Regions from separate parts of the Homo sapiens genome. Here all the other regions are linked to region 5. The links are contacts of gene promoters, found by promoter capture Hi-C in human tissues and cell types (Jung and others, 2019). All regions are on one chromosome and are shown on one strand. The core of a region is centred on a gene start or on the middle of the fragment in contact, and the rest is flanking DNA. Distances in the headings are between cores, read along the strand shown. Region 1 has its middle 38 kb from the start of LDLRAD3. Region 2 overlaps LDLRAD3 (low density lipoprotein receptor class A domain containing 3). Region 3 overlaps LDLRAD3 (low density lipoprotein receptor class A domain containing 3). Region 4 has its middle 16 kb from the start of LDLRAD3. Region 5 holds the start of FJX1 (four-jointed box kinase 1).

Region 1 (4,562 bases), core at 1,629-4,128, 290 kb before region 5:
GTTTCACCATGTTGGCCAGGCTGGTCTCAAACTCCTGATCTCAAGTGATCCACCCACCTCGGCCTCCCAAAGCGCTGGGATTACAGGCATGAGCCACCAGGCATGGCCTCGTTTTGTTATTACTAGTAGGTAGTGTGTGATAAGGATAAAAGTAAACAATACATGCAAAGCAAATTGTTGGAACTCAATAGATATTAGTCCCATTCCCTGCCTCTCCAAGACACAACATAACACCTCCCATTCACATAATACACAGTTATTTGTTGTTGTTACTGTTGAGTGTTTTGTTGAATACTTTTAGAAAAAAGAGTAAAAAGTATTAGAAACCAAACCAATAGTGAAGATTTAAATCAAACAAAGGCAACGTCTGTAGCAAGGTCTGGGGTGAATTTATGACAGGTATGACTCATTGTCTTCAGTTTTCTATGCACAAAGGAAATGAGAACTGGCAGTTCTTCAGGATGACCCTAGCATTCTGCAAGATCCTCAATCATCTCTGAAAAGGGACACTGTGTTCCTTTTTGGTTAGGACTGTTTGGTTGCAAGTAACATAAGCTGCCTCAAGCTGGCTTGCATATGCATTTTGAGGTGTGTGTGTACACGTGCCTGTGTGTGGTGAAGGGGTAGTTCAAAGTGCCTTATGGAGCCAAAACTTGTAGAAACTACTCACTGTATATCTTTTTCATTTTTACTTTCCCTTACACTAGTTTTTGCTTCTTGTCCCAAATGGCAGAAAAATTGCTGCCCCACAATTCTAGAGGTTATGTTATAGATCCAAGCGCATGAAGAGACTGATGCAACCAGAGTTTCCCCCAATTTGAAATTCTCAGAGAAAGAAGCTGATTGGTTTAGCTAAGTTCCGCTGTACACCTCAGCTCCAATCATCTGTGGCTAGGAAGACAGCATTGCACAAACACAGGTGAAGGAGGCTTACTCCTAAGATCCTGAGGATGGAAATAAAAGAGGAGTTTCAAAGGGTGGGGAAAGGTGAGTGTCATTAGGTATAGACACACCAAAGGTGTCATTCCAGTTTAAGTAGTAGGGGGGAAGTGAACTAATATAGAATAATTTTTAACAGCCAGAGCCAGAATCTAAAAGGGTTTTGGCTTAGCATGGTGGCTCACACTTGTAATTGCAACACTTTGGGAGGCTGAGGTGGGAGGATCACTTGAGCCCAGGAGTTTGAGACCAGCCTGGGCAACATAATGAGACCCCGTTCTACAAAAATAAAAATAAAAACAAATTAGCCAGGCATGGTGGTGCATGCCTGAAGTCCCAGCTACTCAGGAGGCTGAGGCAGGAGGATCTCTTGAAGGAGTTCAAGGTTGCAGTGAGCTATTATCACACTACTGAACCCCAGTCTGGGCAGCAGAACAACATTCTGCCTATTAAAAAATGAAAGTAAGAAGGTTTTTTTAAATATATACATACCATAGTTAAGCCAAAAAATTCAATTAGACCAAACTTATTTTACCTTTCATGTCAATTATAGCAGACACAGATGCTTGCCTACCTAACAGCCTATTCTCTTTTCTTCTAAGTTGACCGTACCACACATTTACTTGGGTGTCTGCTCCATCATCTTATCAGTCATAGATAACCCCCATCCCTGTGTTTAGATGTAAATTAGTCTAATAGGTGCATTGTGATCCTATTTGCTGTCTAGTTAGTGGCTTAGACATAAGCATGTGATACAATTCTAGCCACTAAAACTCGATAGACAGTCTGCTGATAGGCCTTTTGCAAAGATTTTTTTATTCTCAGTGATGAAAAGAAACTCATAGGAACACTCCTTCTTCTTTTAGATACTTTTAGATCTGGCTGTGATGCGCGGGACTGTGGCAGCCACCTTAGGCCCATGAGGGGACTTAGCATGAGAATGGAAGAACTGAAAGATAGAAAGAACTTGGGTCCTTGATGACATCATTTGAGTCACTGGGTTAACCCACCTTGGACTACTTTACTTCTGGGATTCTTGTTATTTGATAAAAGAAGTGTTCTTATTGTTTAAGCCAGTTGAATTCATTTTTAATTTTTAGTTACTTGAATCCCCAAACATCCTAAATGACATACCTCCAAATTAATACAAATCACAAGCCACAAATGAGACATACTTTAATGAGAGCTGACTTGATAGCATGGAGAACAATTTTGCAAATTCTTAGGAGAAGCTGTCCCTTAGGCAACAGTGATATTGGTAGCCAGGAGATCATAAATCATTTCTAATGCTCCCAGAGCCTTATCAATATACAGAATTTTGCAAGCACAGCAACATTTTTTTTTATATTTATGAAAAAAGCACCTCAAAGGAATTATCTGTTTAAAGTAGCTTTTTTGTGCTTCAAAGTCCTTGCTCCTTCAGACAGAGAGTTGGACAAGTTTAAAGTGGTTTTATTGTGCGTTCCACTCGCTCAAGTTTGATAGGCTGTGTTTTCATGACAGGTCTGTCCCAGCACTGGGTGCCTGGGATGATTTGATGTGGGCTGAGTTCGGACAGCCTAATACTTGGGAAAAAATGTGCTGAAATTGAACAAGATCGCTTTCTGCCCAGCTGTTCTCCAAAGGCTCAGACATTTTTAGCACTGAGCAAAGAAGCTTGTATTTGTTTTGACGTTCTTGGCAAGGAGAACAATGGTTTATTATCCTAGCACTTTACTAACAAATAAGACTGCCTCCAGCAGAGATAAAATATGGGTCTTGACTTCATTGCATCTCATGTCCAAGGGAATTATCTTCTATTCATTCTGATGCCCTTTCATTATGCAGTGTATCTTTTTGTTCTTTATCCTTACCCCACAAAGTAACCCCTGGCTTTCACTCTGAGAAGACAGCTTCCTGAAATCACCATGGGCATGGCAGTTTGATTGTCTTATAAAACATATACTGTATTTTCACTTCTCCAATTTGATATCTTGGAATTTTTTTGTTTGTTTGTTTGCTTTTGGTTCTCCAGATGTGTATGGTTACTTTCTTCTCTAATTTTTCTGTCTGCTTCCTTTTGATATTTGTTTATGTTGTTGCTACTGTTTTAGCACACAGAAGTCTTGGCTTTTACATCATACCTACATTGAAGAGGGCTATCCGGACGCTTTTCTTCGCCCATATGGAGAAGTGTATTACACAGAACAATAGTTTTCTTCAAAACAAAAGGAATTTTTAATATTTTCATGAAAACACTTCTATTTCTCTCCCTATTCTTTGCCTTCCAAAGGATTTTAAAAATTAAACCTTTTTGTAAGTATCACATATGCAGATGTGTGTATAGTTCAATGCATTTTCACAAAGTGAGCACAGCTGTGTAACAATTGTCCCCTCATGTCCCCTCACTGTCGCTGCCTGCCTGTTCCCAAAGGTAACCACTATTCTGACTTCTATCATCAAGCTAAATTTTTCCTCTTTTGCTCGACATTACAGTTGTATGATTCAATCGTGTTGTGATGGATAATGGTAGTTTCATTTTTACTACTGCATATCATTCCATTGGATGACTACACTACAATTTATGTTGATGGCCATTTGATTTGCAAATTTGGGGCTATTACAAGTAGTACTGCTATCACATTTTTGTATGTGTCTTTTGGTGAATATATGTCCACATTTTTCTTAGTTATATGTACCTAGAGGCAGAATTAATGGGGAAGAGGGTATGTATATATTCACTGTTTGTAGGTTGTCCCAATTTATATTTCTGCCAAGAAGGTATGAAAGTCCTGTATCAGTTCAAATACTTGCCAGCACTTGGTATTATTGGTCTTTTAATGATAGCAATTCTGTTAAGTGGGTGGCAGCATCTTGTTGGTCTTATTTTGCATATTCCTGATGAATAATAAGATTGCATACCTTTTATGTTTATTGGCATTTGGAGATCCTCCTCTGTGAAGTGCTTAGAACAGTTTTCATCCTTTTTCTGTTGAGTGTTATATATATTTCTTATTAATATTAAAGACTTCTTTATATATTATGGAAATGAGTTCTTTGTTGAATATATGTATTGCAAATACTGTCTTGCACTCTGTGGATTGCCTTTTTACATTCTCATAGAATCTTTTAATAAATAGAAGTTGTTAATTTTTAAAAAACTTTGTACGATAAAATCATTTTAGACTTAAAAAAATAATACAGAGAGTTCCTGTATACTTTTTACCTAGCATTCCCTAATAGTAACATATTACTTAACCAGAGTACAAAAAATTAATACTGCCACAATACTATTACTAATCTACAGACCTTAATCCCCATTTTGTCAACTGTCCACTAATGCCCTTTTCACAGTTCAGGATCCAACCTAAGATTCCTACATTGACTAAAATTGTCATGTATCCTTGGTCTCTTGCAATCTGGGGTGATTCCTCAGTTTTTCTTTGTCTTTTTGAGCTCAACACTTTTGAAGAGGTATTTTGTAGACTATCCCTCAATTTGGGACTCTCTAATGTTTTCTCATAATTAGCAAAACTATTCCAATAATTAGTAACTATAAACATGGCGTATCTAAGAAATTTTGGTTTACTTTGTCTTTTTTTAAGTCAGGTTTTTGAGTATGATTTATATTCACATAGAGTACA
Region 2 (4,421 bases), core at 748-3,247, 420 kb before region 5:
AAGCAGGTTTGACATGATAATATGTCATGATAGCAGTAAGATTCCATTTCAGCAGGGTAACAGATACCTAGAGAAAAAGACTGAAAGCCCCCACTGGGGGTCTCTGATGGAGGAAGGTTATGGAGACTTATTTTCTGGGCCAACAGGCAAGCTCCATGTAATCGCTCTACTGCTCAATTTCCTCATCTGGAGATGACACCAGCCGGTTACTAATAAGGCTTCCGCAATAATCAAATGAATCAATAGAATGTAAAATGCCTGGGATAGTGTGGCCTAGAGGAAGCTCTAATAAGCTCTCCTCATAATCAGGACTTCCATGGAGCTTCCTCGTTTTTGTAAAACATTATCTTTATTCCTTTTATTTTATTTTTAAGTTATTTGGATAAAACTATCACTGAGGGCACTCCACTAACCAAGAACAGAAATATACTCAAAGTGTCCCAAAATGACCCTCTTCTACAGATTCAAGAGGCAGAAAATCTAATGTCTTAACTCAGCTGGAAATTAATATTAGTCCATCAATAGGTATCTCACAAAGAAATAAAACTAGTAACTAGAGGTAAGGGAAAACACTCAATCTAGCTAGATAATTTTTTTTAATTAAAAAAAGTAACTTTTCAATTATTAAATTAACCAGAAAAATATTTTTTAAAGATGTTACCCAGGGCTGCCAAGACTAAAATAAAGTCATAGTTTTCACATGTTGCCAACAAACTGGTGCAAACCTTTAGCAAAACAAGTCGGCAGTCGGTGTCAAGAGCCAGAAAAGGCGCCTTCCCTCCAACCCAGTAATTTTAATTCTGAGAATTTAGCCTAAGCAAATTTCTCAAAACAGAGGGAAAGTCATGTCCACCCTCCTGTTCACAAGTGAGCACTGTTTCCCATAGTGGAAAACTGGAAAGAAGAGAAATGCCAAATTATGTGTAAATAAACCATATTATAGCAAGTTAATGGCACTAAAAATGATAAAGAGAAAAATGGGGGGAGATACAGAAAAACTGTTAACAGGTTGAAATGTTACATGAGAAAATGTCAAAATATAAAACTGTACACCCCTGGCGATTACACTGGGGAAAAGCCTGAATGAGAACTTCCAGGATGCCAATAGTGGATCTGAGTACAGATGCTTTTCCTCCTTCTCTGCCCTCAATTTTTACAATATGTGATCTTATTACCGTCACGATTAAAAAAAAAAAATCTTCCTGTCTGGTAAAAATCCTTCCTCTGCTGTGGATACAGAAGAGCTGCTCACTGCCTCATATCCCACCATGACACACCTCTCCAGGCTCTTTCTTGCCCTTCGAAAAGGGCAAGAATTCTTTTTTAAGAAGCGTATTATCTTTCCAATGCCAAAGCTCCACAGGGCACTTGAAGTAATCACCTCTCCGAGGCGAGAACACTGCCACCTTCACTCACCTCCCCTTAAGTACCCAGTTGCTCCAAAGAATCAGAGAAAGGGCTTTGTAGCTCATAAGCAAGACACAGAACCAGTCTCCCTCCCTCCGGGAAGGCGGCAGAAATTCCACATCAGCCGTTTCCATCATCCTTGAAAAGGTGGTCAAGTTGGTCACCCTGGAGACCTCAGCCCTGTCCACCCTGACTCTGGCTGAAACCATTGTATATTTCTGTCGTCTGGTTATGCATAAGTTCTTTAAATGATCCTAAACATTTTGACCAGCAGAAGTAAAAGTGCAGAAGAGACTGAAACAGAAGAGACTGAAACATAGAGGGATGGTTAAGTTACAGTGTCACTACTTGACAGAGCATTAGGCAGCCTCCCAAAACAACTGTGAATCCTCAATATAGAATGTGGCCAAGGGCCTCTAATGTTAAGTAGAAAAAAGCAGATAATTGAACCGTATTTCCCCATGACAACGACCAAATAAAATAGTTGATACAGATTTAACCAATAGCAGTTAATGTTTACAAGCCACTTACTGTATACAGGCACTGTGCTGCGTGCTTCATACAGGTTAAAATTTCACAACACTGTTAAGTATCAGAAGCCTTATTACCCCCATTTTGGAGAGGAGGAAATTGAGGCACCAGGAGGTTAAAGAATTCTCTTTAAACCTCCCAAAGGCTAAAGTTTAGAACATTCTGGTAAGTTTCCCACGATCACACAGCCCCCTAAGGGGGAAGAAGGGCTCTGATTTTGACACAAATCGGCCTTCTCAAGGGCTCACACCCTCACTCCTAGGCTGAAAGGGAATATATAAGAAATTTTAGGCCGGGCGCGGTGGCTCACGCCTGTAATCCCAGCACTTTGGGAGGCCGAGGCGGGCGGGTCACGAGGTCAGGAGATCCAGACCATCCTGGCTAACACGGTGAAACCCCGTCTCTACTAAAAATACAAAAAAGTAGCCGGGCGTAGTGGCGGGCGCCTGTAGTCCCAGCTACTCGGGAGACTGAGGCGAGAGAATGGCGTGAACCCGGGAGGCGGAGCTTACAGTGAGCCGAGATCACGCCACTGCATTCCAGCCTGGGTGACAGAGGCAAGACTCCGTCTAAAAAAAAAAAAAAAAGAAAGAAATTTTAAATGAAAGTAGAATTTGTTTTAGAAAAGGGACTTTTTCTCCTTCCCTCTACTGTCTAAACTTTCTAATGTTCTGTTTTCACGATTTAAAGACAAAAAAAGAAGGGCTACAGAGAGAGGTTAATGTATGTTTGGGGCGCATGGTTTTTTAATTATGTTTTGCTCAAAGGACTAAATAAATGCCACTCAAACCTCCACCACACTTGGGGGTTAAGGGTAGGAAGTCAGGGGAAAAAAATAATGGAGAATAGCCAAGAATGAGCCTGTTCCAAACCAAACCAAGCAGCTCCAGGCAGCTGCCGGCAACATCTTTTTTAAAAACATTTGCTCTCCACCATGTCTTCCAGTTTGAGCATGAATTCTAAAATCATGAGACTGGAGTGACAGGACACAGAATGCCATAGAATGCACTAATATCACACAGCTGCTATTGACAAAGCTGGGCATACAATTTAGGAATCAACTCCTTAATCCTGCGTTCTTTCAGAAACTGATCATGTGCCAAACATTCCCAGGTCAGCTAACGATAATCCGTATGTGCCGAAGTTGAAATATACACCATATCTCAAAAATGGTAACTTGGCACACTTGTACAGTGTTTAATAAATCCTCAAAACCAGACAGATGACAGAGCTCACCCATACTATGTCATTTGCTCAGATTACTAATGTTATAGCTCTAGTAATTCTGAGGCCATGTTAGAAACAGAGAAAAGCTAAAATAGACATAATAATACTTTTAAAAAATAATTCTGCAGGCCGGGCTTGGTGGCTCACATCTGTAATCTGTAATCCCAGCACGTTGGAAGGCGGAGGTAGATGGATTATTGAGCTCAGGGGTTCAAGAGCAACCTGGGCAACGTGGTGAAACTCTGTTTCTACAAAAAATAAAAATACATTAGCCAGGCGTGACGGCGCACTCCTGTGGTCCCAGCTACTAGGGGGATCAAAGTGGGAGGATCACTTGAGTCCAGGAGGTCGAGGCTGCAGTGAGCTGTGATCATGCCATTGCATTCCAGCCTGGGCTGGAAAACAATAAACAAACAAACAATTCTGCAAAAATAAAAATTCAGTGTGTATAGTGATCAATTCAGAAAGATCATATGCAACAAGCAGTATGAAATATTCTCCCCAAATAACACACCCCCAATTTTCCCATCCCAAAAACTTCTCTGAAGGGCAGGAGCAGGCACTGGGGATATGGGACCCCTTGGATGGGCGAAGGACCAGTTTCAGAGGGGGCAGCTTGCTCCAGAGGTGTGTGAACTCCAAAGCCAGTGCCCGTTCCCATGCGTCAACAGACTCGGCCCCAAATTCTGGTCAGAAATATGTTAAAAATTCAAATGACTGACTGGGCACAGTGGCTCATGCCTGTAATCCCAGCACTTTGGGAGGCTGAGGTGGGCGGATCATGAGGTCAGTAGTTTGAGACCAGCCTGGCCAACATGGTAAAACCCCGTCTCTAATAAAAATACAAAAATTAGTTGGGCACGGTGGTGGGTGCCTGTACTCCAGCTACTCAGAAGGCTGAGGCAGGAGAATCGCTTGAACCCGGGAGGTGGGGGTTGCAGTGAGCCGGGATCACACCACTGCACTCCAGCCCCGGGTGACAGAGCAAGACTCCGTTTCAGGGAAAAAAAAAAGTTCAAATGATTAACCTGTCTTCAGCTATTTCCTCAGCTGGCTTCCAGGGAGACAGCAGGCTCAGAGCCAGGACACATAGTTCTCCTGTCAGACAGGCCACGTGGCCTGGTGCCCAAAGCACATGAAAGAGCCAGGAACCATCGTCCAGTCATGTGGTCTCAAGGCAATCCCCTGTGAGACAACCCTGTGCCCACCACTTGTCAGTCATGCTTCCTACCTACCAGGGCACCCAGGAGGACAAC
Region 3 (4,084 bases), core at 971-3,470, 480 kb before region 5:
GGTTATGTTGCCAATCAATGAAGCCCCAATTAAAATTCAGTTCCACCACAACCTTCTTTGGTCTCTAATACATCTCATATAGAATACAAAGACAGAATAATGACTGCACTTTCAGGGCCCCATTCTCGTGCCCAGTTCCTTACAGACTGTATGTTAGTTTTCAAGGCCAAGGATAAGGAGGGGAACTAAATCCCAGATAAGGAGAGAGAGGAGGAGGGGCTCCCATAAACTGGTGTTGCTAAAGTGGAGAAACCACTATTTCATACCCTAGTCAAATTGGAAGAGAATTATTTCAAGCACTCTCTTTCTGGTCTTGGAGCCAGCCAGTTTGCTCTACCCCATCAAGATAAATATGATAAAATATCATTTTCTCCCACATAACTGAGAGCAAAGATCTATTTTTAAGGGCTACACACCCAGCAGAAGGAGAGAGAACAAAGTTTGACTAAGTGAGCTCATGTACAGAGGTGCTTAGCAGAGTACTCAGTGCATCAAAAAGTATTGTTAAGATGGCAGTGGGTCGGCCGGGTGCGGTGGCTCACGCCTGTAATCCCAGAACTTTGGGAGGCCGAGGCGGGTGGATCACGAGGTCAGGAGATCAAGACCATCCTGGCTAAGACGGTGAAACCCCGTCGCTACTAAAAATACAAAAAATAAGCCAGGCGTAGTGGCGGGCGCCTGTAGTTCCAGCTACTCGGGAGGCTGAGGCAGGAGAATGGCGTGAACCTGGGAGGCGGAGCTTGCAGTGAGCCGAGATTGTGCCACTGCACTCCAGCCTGGGCAACAAGAGTGAGACTCCGTCTCAAAAAAAAAAAAAAAAAAAAGATGACAGTGGGTCAAATCCTATGTGGCATAGGGCAATATTTTGTCTAGTCAAACTATCTCTGAGATTCTTCAGGAAAATACTGCATAGAGCTCAGTGTGGGTCAGTTTTCCCACAGCACTGATGTGCTGGGGTTCCTTTGGTCAAGCACCAAAATGAGTTAGTCGGTTTGGACATAGAGGTTACATGATGCAAGAAAACACACCCTTAATACCAGAGTCTCACTCAGGGCAGGGAGATGTGTACACCCTACGAAGGATGAGGCTGCAGAATTGCAGACAGCTAAGGGAACTCCAGATCTGTCTCCCATCTCACACTCACTGCAGGGCAGATTCCCACTGAGGAAATGACGGAATTCTCTACCCAATTTAAACAACAATAATAATACTTGTTATTATTTTAATAAATCGTGGATATCTGAACTCACATAACTTAAAAACCTATACGGTGCAATATCACACAGGGTGCAAATTAAAACACAGCATTAATAACAACACTCTACCAAGAAGTCTTTTCTAGTCTTCAGCACTTAGCAAATCCACTATGTACAGAGCACAATGCCACCACGTAGGTTCGGCAGGATTTGAGAGGCAAAACGGGCACAGGTCCTGTTCTTGTTACTCTTCTTGGGTAGCTCACAGCAATGCCTTCCACAAGTGGGCACCTTGTGGGGTGGCTGTTATACCCATGAAACTGACAGGTGTCAGCAACTGCCTGGTGGGCCTTATTTTCTGGGAGCACGTGCATATGTAGCTTATTTTCTAAGGGGATGCCCTCTGGCTAAGGAAGGCACAAAGCTGAGATTCTAAGGAAAGTATGTGTCAAGAGTTGGGCTTCATATGTATGTGTCCACCACTAACTTTCTCCATAAACCTCATATTTATGGGACGTGGAATATGGTGAGAGAGAAAAAGCAGAATTTAAAAAAATAGGAGCTTTAAACAGCCTACAGAGGGACCCACCATTCTTCTTAAGGGCAAGCAAAAATCTGCTTCAGTAAAATACTGGGATGGGCACAGAAGAGGGTGTTGCCCAAACTATTGACAGGCCTAACCTCCACATCTTAGACGTGGGAGTCTTTTCACTGAACGTCTTAGGGCACCATGAGTAAGTGAGTCCAGGATACATACACACTTAAGAAACTGTATAGGCCGGGCGCAGTGGCTCACGCCTGTAAATCCCGGCACTTGGGGAGGCTGAGGCAGGCAGATCACAAGGTCAAGAGATCAAGACCATCCTGGCCAACATGGTGAAACCCATCTCTACTAAAAATACAAAAATTAGCTGGGCGTGGTGGCACACGCCTGTAGTCCCAGCTACTTGGGAGGCTGAGGCAGGAGAATCGCTTGAACCCGGGAGGCAGAGGTTGCACTGAGCCAAGATCACGCCACTGCACTTCAGCCTGGGTGACAGAGCAAGACTCCGTCCATGCCATCCCCCCAAAAAAAGAAACAATCGCCATAGAAAATGTTCCTCAATCCTTCCTATCTATGCTAATACTTACTTGATTTTGCATTCTTGTTCCCTATTTGGTGTCCATCACTGGCAAGACATTGGCATGTTTGGTTTTATAAAAATTTGATCTTGTGTAAAGGCCAGCAATACGTTGCGTTCAGTCAGAAGTTTGGAAATTTCTAGGCAAATGGCAGGATTATAAACCTCTCTCAGGTGACTGTAGAATGGTGGAGCTCAGCCTTCAGTGTGCATTAGAATCACCTTGAGGGCTTCTTAAGTAAAACGCCGATGGCTGGGCCCACTCCCGCCAGTTGATTTAGCTGATCTAGAACGGGGCCTGAACAACTGCATTTCTGGCTGGGCCCACCGACACCAGTTGATTTAGCTGGTCTAGAATGGCGCCTGAACAACTGCATTTTCGGAGTTCTCATGTGATGCTGATGCTCCCGGACTGAGGATTATACTTTGAGAACCACTGTGAAGAGTCGACCCAAGAAAGGCATTTTCCAGGCAAAGACAATCAGAAGCTAATTCTATCCAAGACTCGCCTCCCACAGCTGTTCTCTGCACAAATCTTGGCAAAGTCTATGCCAATACACATTTTGTCTTTTCTTTCCTATGGACCTCAGGCATATAGATTTAGATTGACCATAATCCTTGGTTTGTAGCCCACTCTCACCAGTTGTTATGTATGACCATCTGTTCATTCACTCGTTCATTTTTAATAGCATAAACACCAATCAAAATAAAAGCTAGGACCTTGAAAATAACCTACATCTAACTACATGGAACTTATCCATCATCTATCCTACCTCCCAATATATGAGTTAACCAGCTAAGCAGTTAACCATCATTCTCTTACTTTTCTTTTCACACTTTTATTAGATCTATAAACTATGGTACAATCATACAGTAGAACACTGAACATAAGTCAAGACAAACAATCTCCAACAACAAACAATACAGGTGAATCACAGCAATATAATACTAAGTGAAAATAGGAAAGATTACATACAGATGATACCAATTTATAACATTAGAAATATATATTCTTTCGGATGCCTTAAAACAGATGTGCATTTTAAATCTTAGTATTTCTAATCACTGAAGAAATGCTAAAAAAAAGAGTCCATGAGTAAAGAAATGTACCCGGTCAGTTTTAACTAGGGAGGACATGACCTTATCCCATTGTGTCCTCCTCAGACTCCCTAACAAAGCTCATCTTCCCATCCTCCAGCTGCATCCCTCAGCTTCCATGAGACAGCCCCAAAATCAATAGCCCAGACACAAGGAGGCAATTCACAGAAAAGGAAACAAAGCAGTAAACAAACATGACGGGAAAAAATGTGAACTCTGCTCATAATCAGAGAAATGCAAATGAAAGCATTTGGGGAGGTTGTTATTCTATGACTACCAAATTAGCAAAAATGGGAAAAAAAAAATAGGGCAGCAGTTGTGATGCCTGTGAATGTCTGTGATAGCACAGTAAAACTGACAGGCACAGACAATGATGTCAGCAATGTAAACTTAAAAAAGAAAAAAAAACACAGCTGCATGCTGAGGTGTAACAGACACCTGTGCAGACATCCCACTCTGCAGACTTTATCCCAAAGAAGTAATTCAAGGGAAAGAAACAACCTGGATTGCCCCAATAAAGCGTTGTCTCAGAAAACCACAGGAGAGTAACATGACAGTATGTAACACAGTTGGGGCATATTACAGTTTTGAAGAGAAATGTATAGATGATATTTAATTCAGGAACAATACAAAATTCAAAATGGTAGGTGTGTTGTAGTTAAAGCCACG
Region 4 (4,360 bases), core at 99-2,598, 310 kb before region 5:
TGTTCAGTAAATATTTGTTGAATGAATGAAAGTTATAGCCTGTGGTGTGTGCAAATCTATTGTGTGTGTAGGTTATCTGTGGTTTCATAAATAACCATCCTCAAAACAGCAACCATTGTAATAGGCTCATGCATTCTGTGGGCCAGGAGTTCCAACAGGACAAAGTGGGATGTCTTGTCTAATTCCATGATATCTGGAGCCTCAGCTGGGAAAAAAATGTGTGTATTACTCTGCTTTTGCTGCCATAACTATGTTGTTATTGACTTATTGATTTACATATTTTATTTAAGACAGGGTCTCACTCTTGTCACCCAGGCTAGAGTACAGTGAGTGGCACTATCATGGCTCACTGAAGCCTTGACCTCCCGGCCTCAAGTGATCCCCAGTGATCCCCCTGCCTCAGCCTTCCGAGTAGATGGGACTACAGGTGTGTGCCACAACACCCGGCTAATTATTATTATTATATTCTGTATAGGTGGGTGTCCCACTCTGTTGCCTGGGCTGCCTTGAAATCCTGGGTTGATGTGATCCTTTCACCTCAGGCTCCCAAAGTGCTGAGATTACAGGTGTGAGCCACCATGCCTGGCCTGGCCTGGCTGCCCTAACTATGGCTGTCATAGAATGGGTGGCTTAAACAACAGAAATTTATTTTCTTACTGTTCTGGCTCCTGGGAAGTTCATGATCAAGGTGGCAGCCCATTTGGTTTCTGGCGAGGGCTCTCCTTCTGGCTTACAGGGGGCCCCCTTCTTACTCTGTCCTCATACAGTTGAGAGAGAGGAAGGAGCTCTTTGCTGTCTCTTCTCATTAAGACACTGATTTTATCAAACCGGGTCTCCCCTACACCCCGTCATGGCCTTATCTAACCCTAATCACCTCTTAAAGGTCCCATCTCCAAATACTATCATTTTGGGGATTAGGGGTCTGACATATGCATTTTGGGGGTACACAAACAGCCCATAACAACATGAATAGCTGCAGGTGACTTGAAATGTTAGAAGCAAAAATAGCCTGGAAAGGCTGGGTGCGGTGGCTCATGCATGTAATCCCAGCACTCTGGGAGGCCGAAGCAGGTGGATTATCTGAGGTCAGGAGTTCAAGACCAACCTGGCCAACATGATGAAACCCCGTCTCTGCTAAAAATACAAAAAATTAGCCAGGCATGGTGGCGCACGCCTGTAATGCCAGCTACTCGGGAGACTGAAGCAGGAGAATCACTTGAACCCAGGAGGTGGAGGTTGCAGTGAGCTGAAATCACACCACTGCACTCCAGCCTGGGCAACAAGAGTGAAACTCCATCTCAAAAGAAAAAAAATAAAGAAAAAGAAATTGCCTGGAAACTTCTTCCCTCATATGCCTGGGGTCTGGGACGGGACAACTCTGAGGCTGGACTCAGCTGGGACCATCAGCTGAAACATCAACACATGCCCTTCCATCCAGCCTGGACTTTCACATTAGATTTTGCAAGAGTCCGCAATAAACCTTTGCTATGCTAAGCCACTAATACTTTGGGTTGATTGCTGCAGTGTAGCCTACCTTATCCTGGACTAAGAATGATTTTCAAGTATACGGTTATTTAATGTAATGAGATAAACCTTGTTAGCCTAGAGGCTAGCCTAAGGAATGTCTTTCCTTTCCACCATAGGCAATCTGGAAAGCTGAGCTTCTGCTCAGCGAGACACGTGAGATACGCATGACATGGACCAGGGTGCTCGCCTTGTCATGCCACTTACAAACAGTGTGGCCTTGGATAAATTACAGAATCTTTCTGAGCCTCAGTTTTCTCACCAGTAAAATGGGAAGATGATTATAACACTTATCTCAGGATTGTGAGAATTAAGGGATAGGTATCTATTATATGGCACTGGGCACAGCATAAGCACTTATTAAATGTTAGCTGTTATATTACTTCCATTATTACTTCTATTATTATTATTATTATTTTTTGAGGTGGAGCCTCACTCTGTCGCCCAGGCTGGAGTGCAGTGGCACGATCTAAGCTCACTGCAACCTCCGCCTCCTGGGTTTGAGTGATTCTCCTGCTTCAGCCTCCTGAGTAGCTGGGACTACAGGCGCCCGCCACCATGCCCGGCTAATGGTTTTGTATTTTTTTAGTAGAGACGGGGTTTCACCGTGATAGCCAGGATGATCTCAATCTCCTGACCTCGTGATCTGCCCACCTCGGCCTCCCAAAGTGCTGGGATTACAGGCGTGAACCACCGAGTCCGGCCATATTACTTCTATTATTATACAGTCCGCAATCTCTTGAGCTGAAGGCTAGGAGGGTGTCCACTATGCACAGTTAAAAAAAAAAAAAAAAAAAAAAAGCTGAATCAGCACATCCAGAGAGAAAATTGAGTATCTTTTGTGTTTGGTTAGGGCTGAGAGAAAAAAGGAGGCTTTTGAACTCCCAAAGCCATAAACGAGAAGTGAGGAGAAAGGCCTCCCCTTTTGATATATTAAATATCTACTTATGTATACACCACCTGGTTCCATATAAGAAGAGAGAGGAAGACAGACTTCATGCCATCTCATCTTCTGGCAACAAAAACAGGTGCTAAAACAAGGACGGGATGTAAAATAGAAGCAGAAAGTGGCTCCCAAAAAAATCTTACCATGGGAACCTCACTGCAGACTCTGGCTGTGCGCTAAGCTCTCTAGCCGACTGTGCAATAAGTGCAGCCGTGGTGGTTACACAACCTCGCAAGGTTGCACAATCCAGTTTAGGTTCTTCATCACCCAGTCACGCCATTGCCAAAGCATGCTCCCAAGGGAGGGGCTGGGAGGCAAGCCGCTGGCAAAGGTGACTTGAGTAAGGTGCTGGGTGTCATGCCTAGCACTGTGCCACAGGGGCTGAGTCACCCCAGAAATTTAAGGTGTGGCCGCCAGGCCCCTGCCAAGGAGGGCCGGGGGACCCGGAAAAGAGAAGAATCCCATTTTTGCCTTTATCACCATCACTCCAATTCAGAGGAGGGTACGTCTGAAAAAAATTCTCTCTAGCTTGCACTTTTTAGGCCGTTTAATTTTTTATTGTTGAGTATGAACAGTGAAACAGAGCAGTTTCCTGTTTCTTGGCCCCAACCCCCCAACCACCGCTGAGAAATTTGAGTTTAAAACTGCCGGAGAGGAACATTTAAATTCTATAAATTAGCTTCACTAAAGATGCTTAAGCATTTATGAAAACATTCCCATTTTACTCTCGGCGTTATAAAATCTTAAAGAAAAAAAAAAATCCCAAATTGCCACGTGAAGCTAAGCTGGCAGAGAGAGCGATCTGCTCAGTGCAAATATGCCAACAGCTTTACAAATGAGGAATATAGAATCAGGATTAAGAGCCCGCAGATCATTTATCAGTGACAAAACAAAGACTCCTAGCCTCTGGACTCAGAGTCCGCGGAGAATCTAATCGGCTACATCGCATGCCCCAGAAGCAGTGTTCAGTGTTAACTCATTTATACCCACATTAATGCTGGCAGCAGGGAACTCCGTTGTGCCTGCCTTGGTGCCCAGAAGAGCTATTTTGGTGTAAAACAGAGCTCGGCTTCAGGGAAAACCTGGGTTTAAATCCTGGTTTAGCTACTAACCAGCTGGTGACGCTGGACAACGAACTTTATCATTAGAAGACTCAGTTTCCTCCTCTGAACACTGGAGAGAATAATAACATGCAGGCATTCAAGAAGGGATAATTTCCCTGATAACCTTCACTTCTAGACAAACACAATAAACATAACCAAACGACGGAGTGGTTCCATCAAATGTACTTTTTTTTTTTTTTGAGATGGAGTCTCACTCCGTCAGTCAGGCTGGAGTCTTGCTCCGTCGCCCAGGCTGGAGTGCAGTGGCGCGATCTCTGCTCACTGCAACCTCTGCCTCCTGGGTTCAAGGGATTCTCCTGCCTCAGCTTCTCGAGTAGCTGGGTCTACAGGCACCTGCCACCACACCTGGTTAATTTTTTGTATTTTTAGTAGAGATGGGGTTTCACTGTGTTAGCCAGGATGGTCTCGATCTCCTGACCTCCTGATCCACCCACCTCGGCCTCCCAAAGTGCTGGGATTACAGGCGTGAGCCACCGTGCCTGGCCCAAATGTACATTTAAATAAACATGTTCGGACACACACCCCCATTCCCACCACGAAAAGGAGAGTGTGCCGAAGAAAGAAAATAAGACTCCAGTTCTTTTTTTTAACTCCTATTATCTACTTTTCTTATTCTTCTGATGACACCTGGGCCTTCTATGGCGCTGGGGTACAAAAAGGTCACAGCCAAAAGCAAAGAGAAGCTGATGACGTTAATTTTGGTTTCTGATTCTGAGGGTTTAGGTTTAGGAATAATTTTGACACTTGGCTTTATAGAAATTTCCCC
Region 5 (4,399 bases), core at 1-2,500:
TCGTTATACTTGTCCCACATGCCTGCTACCCGGTAGCCGTGCACCAAGCCCGCCTCATTGTCCAGAAAGACCAGCGCCCCGCCCGGACCGCGGTGCAGGTTGCTGGTGGCACGCTGCATGACGCGCGGGTCCCACTGCAGGCTGAAGAGGTTGCTTACGAGCCGGTCGAAGTTGGCCGTCAGGTAGTCGAAAAGGATTAAGTCGGTCCATTGTACTAGGTCCACCAGCTCCGCCTGGCTGAGGTTGGCCAGCTCACCCCCGGCATCCCGGAGGGGGCGCAGACGGCCGTCCTCCGAGCGCCAGGGCGCGGGCACCACCACGTCCGTGAGGTTGGGCAGCCAGCGTGTCAGGCTCACCACGCTGCCCTCGGTCCAGTGCGCAGCGCGCAGCTCCTCCTGCACCTGCGCCCACTGCGCGCCCCGAGCCTCCACCCGAGCCAGTGCCAGCGGCGGCACGTGGCGCTGGAGGCCCAGCAGGCGCGCCAGATAGTAAGACAGGGCCTCGCCCTGAATCTGCTCCGGGTTGATGCCGTAGCGCACGCAGGCGCGGGTGCCGTCGGCAAAACGGGCCAGTCGGTTGGAGCTGCGCCCGCAACCCCCGCGCTCCAGGGCCACCATCCGGGCGCCGCGAGCCGCCTCCAGCCACGCCGCCGCCTGGGCCTCCGAAAAGCCCGGGGGCACCTGCTCCTCCAGGCCGCGGCTCCAGAAGACGCCCCCGTGCACCGCGGCGCTCTCCTCCGGCCGGGGCTGCCTGGCTGACACGTGCCACCTGGGCTCGCTCCGGGACTGCCGGGGCGGGCCGTCCGCGCCGGCCGCCAGGGTGAGCAGCGCCCGGAAAGTTTTCAGGGAGCCGCCGCGGGCGTCCCACGCCAGGGGCGGGGGCAGAGGGAAGCGAGGCGCGGGCGCGGGGCCGCCGCTCCGGGCCGGGCGCCGTGGGAGTCGGTCTTCGGGCGGCCGGGAGGCGGGCAGCTCGGTCCGCGGCGGCAGGAGCCCTCCCCACAGCGCCAGCAGCGAGCCCAGCGCCAGCAGCCAGAGCCCCGCGGTGGCGGCGGCGCCCCGCATCCTCCTGCCCATGCTCCCGCGGCTGTGCCGGTGCGCCGCCGCCGCTTCAAGCCGAGCCCAGGCACCCGGGTCCCGGCGGCGAGGCGGGCCCGGCAGTTTGTGGGCTCCGGGGCTTCGGGCGCTTCGGCCCCATCGCGGCCGCGGGGCGCTGCGGGGCTCTGTCCGGCGCTCCGCCCGGCGCTGGGAACTCGAGTCCCCGCCGCTTCCCAGCTGCTTTTGTATTTCGCTGTGAGACCCTCCGGTGGGCGCGATTCACAGGCGCCCGGACCACGTGGGAGCCAGGGGGATCCCCCTCCCCCTCCTCCGCCTCCGCTCCCCGCCCCCCGCTCCCCCGCCCCCTTCCTCTCCTCTTCCACTTAAAGCGGCGATGGCTCCTTCCGAGAGGGAGAGGCGGCCCCACACTCGGTCCGGGACTTGGGGGCCTGGAGGAAGCCGGACTGGCTGCGCCCGCGCCGGGGCGTAGGAGGGGGTGGCGCAGAGCCGGAGTCTGGGGCCTGGCGGGAGGGACGCGCCCTGGGCCCTCGCGGGGGTGTCTTGGTCGCCGGGTCCCTTTGCCTAGGCAGCGCGGGTCTCCTGCAAACTTCAGACAGATTTCCACCTCTTTCCGAGCTCCGCCAGGCTAGGATCAGGCAGGGTCCCTTTGCTTTCTCAGTTTCTGTCTGGGTGATTCACGCTGCTTTATGTAAATCTCTGGGAATGTCTCCGAGCCACAGAGGATGTGATTCCAGCGGAAAGAGGAACCCGCTGTAGCCAACAACTTTGAACCGACACTCCCTTTTCCGAGCTCGCACATCAGCACCAATCAGTATTGGCCGCTCTGCCTTTCCCAACGGACTCCCAGGGAATGAAGCCTCGCTGTGCACGTGCCCCTTGAACACCTAGGCCATCTCCCATTCATTCATGCATCCATTCAACACAGCGACTGCCCCTCAGTTCTGGTTCTGCTTACCAGAAGCAAAATCCACAGATCCGGGTCCCAGTGCTGCTGAAATTTACATTCCAGTGGGACTCTCAGGTTGCTAAGAGAGATTATAGCCATCCAACCTCGTGTTGGGGAGAGGGGAGTCAGGGACGACTTTTCGAAAGAAATGATACCGTTTTGTCCATGAGGAAACTGAGGCACAGAGAAGGGATGGGTGTTGCTCAGGATTGCACAATTAGCAAGGGGCGAAGCTAAAAGTCAAACTCAGGTCTCCTGGCCGCATGCACTTGATTTTCCCTCCATTAAGAAAGATCAGTATTTTTTTTTTAATCAAGTCAGCATTCTCAAGTTTGAAATTCACTGTCATTTGACCACTTTGTTCCCCAAATGTGATTTTTCAATTAAAAGGATTTTTCAAATGGAAAGGAAAAAAACCTCAATCCCATACTGCATTTGATTTACTGCTTTTACGATTTAAGGGAAAAAGAAATGGTGGTGGTGGTGGGGGAGGGAGGTGGTGAAGGAGCAAAGAAAACAAAATGAACAACCTCTTCACCCCAACACATCTTCCAGCCACCTCTGGGTTACATTTACCAGGAAAACTTGGATGCCAGTCGGCCCTCCCTTACCTCTCTGTATCAGAATGAGTCCCAGATCCACACTGAGATTCCCAGGGTAGACACAAGATCAGGGGCATGGTGGAATCCACCTCTCAAAGGCCAGAGTTTGAAATCTGTTTCCTTACATGGTGTGTATCTTTTCTCTCCTTTCATCTTCCCATCAGGTGCACATGGGGGTTTTCAACTGGACTACCTCATCAGTTGGCACTGATTATGTTTTATTCTCCAAAGAAAAAACGTTCTAGGGTGATAGAGCGTTCCAGGGTGATAAAGCAGACACTCTTATGTTTATGGCTGAGCAGAGGCATCAAAAAACCACATTTGGAGTATTGCAGCACTGACCCAGGATACAGTCAAGTGTTTTCACTGGTGTGGTTAAGTACATACTGGATGAACTGTTGAATCTGTTCCCAACCACATGGTGGCTATACCATGCCATTTTATAACTCTTATCTGATAATGAGATTACTATGGCTCCCATATGGTTGCATCGAAATATATTAATCCATTCAAAGGTCTTATTTTTTTGGCCTATGTAAGCCCCTCCTCATCTTTCCCTAGCAGGCAGGGACTATGTCTTATTTTTTTATTTCTTATACCACCTAACATAGTATATTACACTAAATAAGCACTCAATAAATTTAATTTTTTTGTCTTTTGGTTTAACTTCTACTGGGATATATATGTATTTATTTGAAAGGCAGCCTCTTTCAGCGTGGGCAAACTATAAGCAAGATCGCCACCTAGTGGGCATAAGTAGAGTATCATCTAATTGGAGAAAAGTAGACATTTTTAACTGGATGATTAATTGTTGAAGTTAAATTCGGAAGACTATTAAATGTCTACTGTGTACCAAGCTATGTCCTAGGGGATATGGAGAAATCCAAAGTAGTTGGGGTCTCTGTCTTTTTGGCTGCTAACAAAAGCTGTAAGTAACTACCATTGTAAACTTCCTGGGGAGTCTGTCTTGTCCATTGTTTTATGGCTGCCTGGGCACAATGCCTGGCACTTAGTGTGTGTTCAACAACAATTTGCTGAATACATCGTTAGAATGCTAATGAGATGCAAGTAGCATGTATCAAGTTTTTTTAAATTAAATACCTTACTACTAAATAATGCAAAACAATTTTGTCCAACGGTTGTGAGTTATTGTTCAGCTGATTAAAGAATACAAAATAAGAACTTCCACTCATTTGAAAAAGAAAAAATATTGGTGAGGGTTTTGCATGATAGATGTGAGGGGAAGCACATGATTTTAATTCTGGGAGGGCTGGCTTCAAATCCAGAGACTAGAAATCCTGGAATCTCCTAACCATATTGCTGGTACTGATGAAAAAAACCCAGACTTAAATAAATTGACTAAGATCGTACACCTCATAAGATGGACTAATTTTATCATTGAGCAGCCCTTTGCCTATAGCCATAGGACTGAATGCATCATGTACCAGAACAGGATGCATTAATTTGTTAAACTTTAACAAATTAATTGAAATGCAGAAATACAGAAAACCAAAGGAACAAACACTGCCCCTTCCTCAAAGTGGAATGCAGTTTTGGAATGGTATTTGATTATTTGAGACAGGGTTTAAAAACATGCCTCTGTTTAGCTGTTAGATGAAAATACTCCCATTCTCCTTTATTTTCTGGACTGAGGACACTCCCCTGCCACCTGTGGCCAAACCACTTTGGCTCTGTGGGGTAGCATAGTTAATCACCTCAGTCACTTCTGCCCTCTGGCAGTTGCTTGGGGATGAGAAATCCATTTGCACTTTTATGACTTTCTTAATACTCCTTAG

Evidence for each region. Contacts are between HindIII fragments. The study calls those that stand out against the background at their distance.
Region 1: a contact is called between a fragment that was not itself captured here and the fragment with the promoter of FJX1 in region 5, in 1 of the 25 tissues and cell types used here (hippocampus).
Region 2: a fragment that was not itself captured here is called in contact with the fragment with the promoter of FJX1 in region 5 in 1 of the 25 tissues and cell types used here (dorsolateral prefrontal cortex).
Region 3: a fragment that was not itself captured here is called in contact with the fragment with the promoter of FJX1 in region 5 in 1 of the 25 tissues and cell types used here (spleen).
Region 4: a fragment that was not itself captured here is called in contact with the fragment with the promoter of FJX1 in region 5 in 1 of the 25 tissues and cell types used here (spleen).

What each region holds. Positions count from the first base shown.
Region 1 is chr11:35,904,156-35,908,717 of GRCh38, reverse strand. No RefSeq gene overlaps it. Among named protein-coding and RNA genes, the nearest start is that of LDLRAD3, 38 kb to the left of the region's middle. The HindIII fragment of the contact is 5,735 bases long and covers 11-4,562 here.
Region 2 is chr11:36,037,076-36,041,496 of GRCh38, reverse strand. All of the region lies in intron 2 of LDLRAD3 (low density lipoprotein receptor class A domain containing 3), which reads right to left. Among named protein-coding and RNA genes, the nearest start is that of MIR3973, 29 kb to the right of the region's middle. RefSeq lists an enhancer at 2,319-2,826. The HindIII fragment of the contact is 5,673 bases long and covers 1-4,421 here.
Region 3 is chr11:36,098,626-36,102,709 of GRCh38, reverse strand. All of the region lies in intron 4 of LDLRAD3 (low density lipoprotein receptor class A domain containing 3), which reads right to left. Among named protein-coding and RNA genes, the nearest start is that of MIR3973, 91 kb to the right of the region's middle. RefSeq lists an enhancer at 760-929. The HindIII fragment of the contact is 6,988 bases long and covers 1-4,084 here.
Region 4 is chr11:35,926,314-35,930,673 of GRCh38, reverse strand. No RefSeq gene overlaps it. Among named protein-coding and RNA genes, the nearest start is that of LDLRAD3, 16 kb to the left of the region's middle. The HindIII fragment of the contact is 6,604 bases long and covers 1-4,360 here.
Region 5 is chr11:35,615,311-35,619,709 of GRCh38, reverse strand. FJX1 (four-jointed box kinase 1) reads right to left here and starts at 1,250. Exons shown (of 1, transcript NM_014344.4): 1 at 1-1,250. The coding sequence starts at 1,073. RefSeq lists enhancers at 1-295, 296-930 and silencers at 503-772, 783-1,042, 1,063-1,132, 1,230-1,391, 1,213-1,542 and 1 more. The HindIII fragment of the contact is 11,931 bases long and covers 1-4,399 here.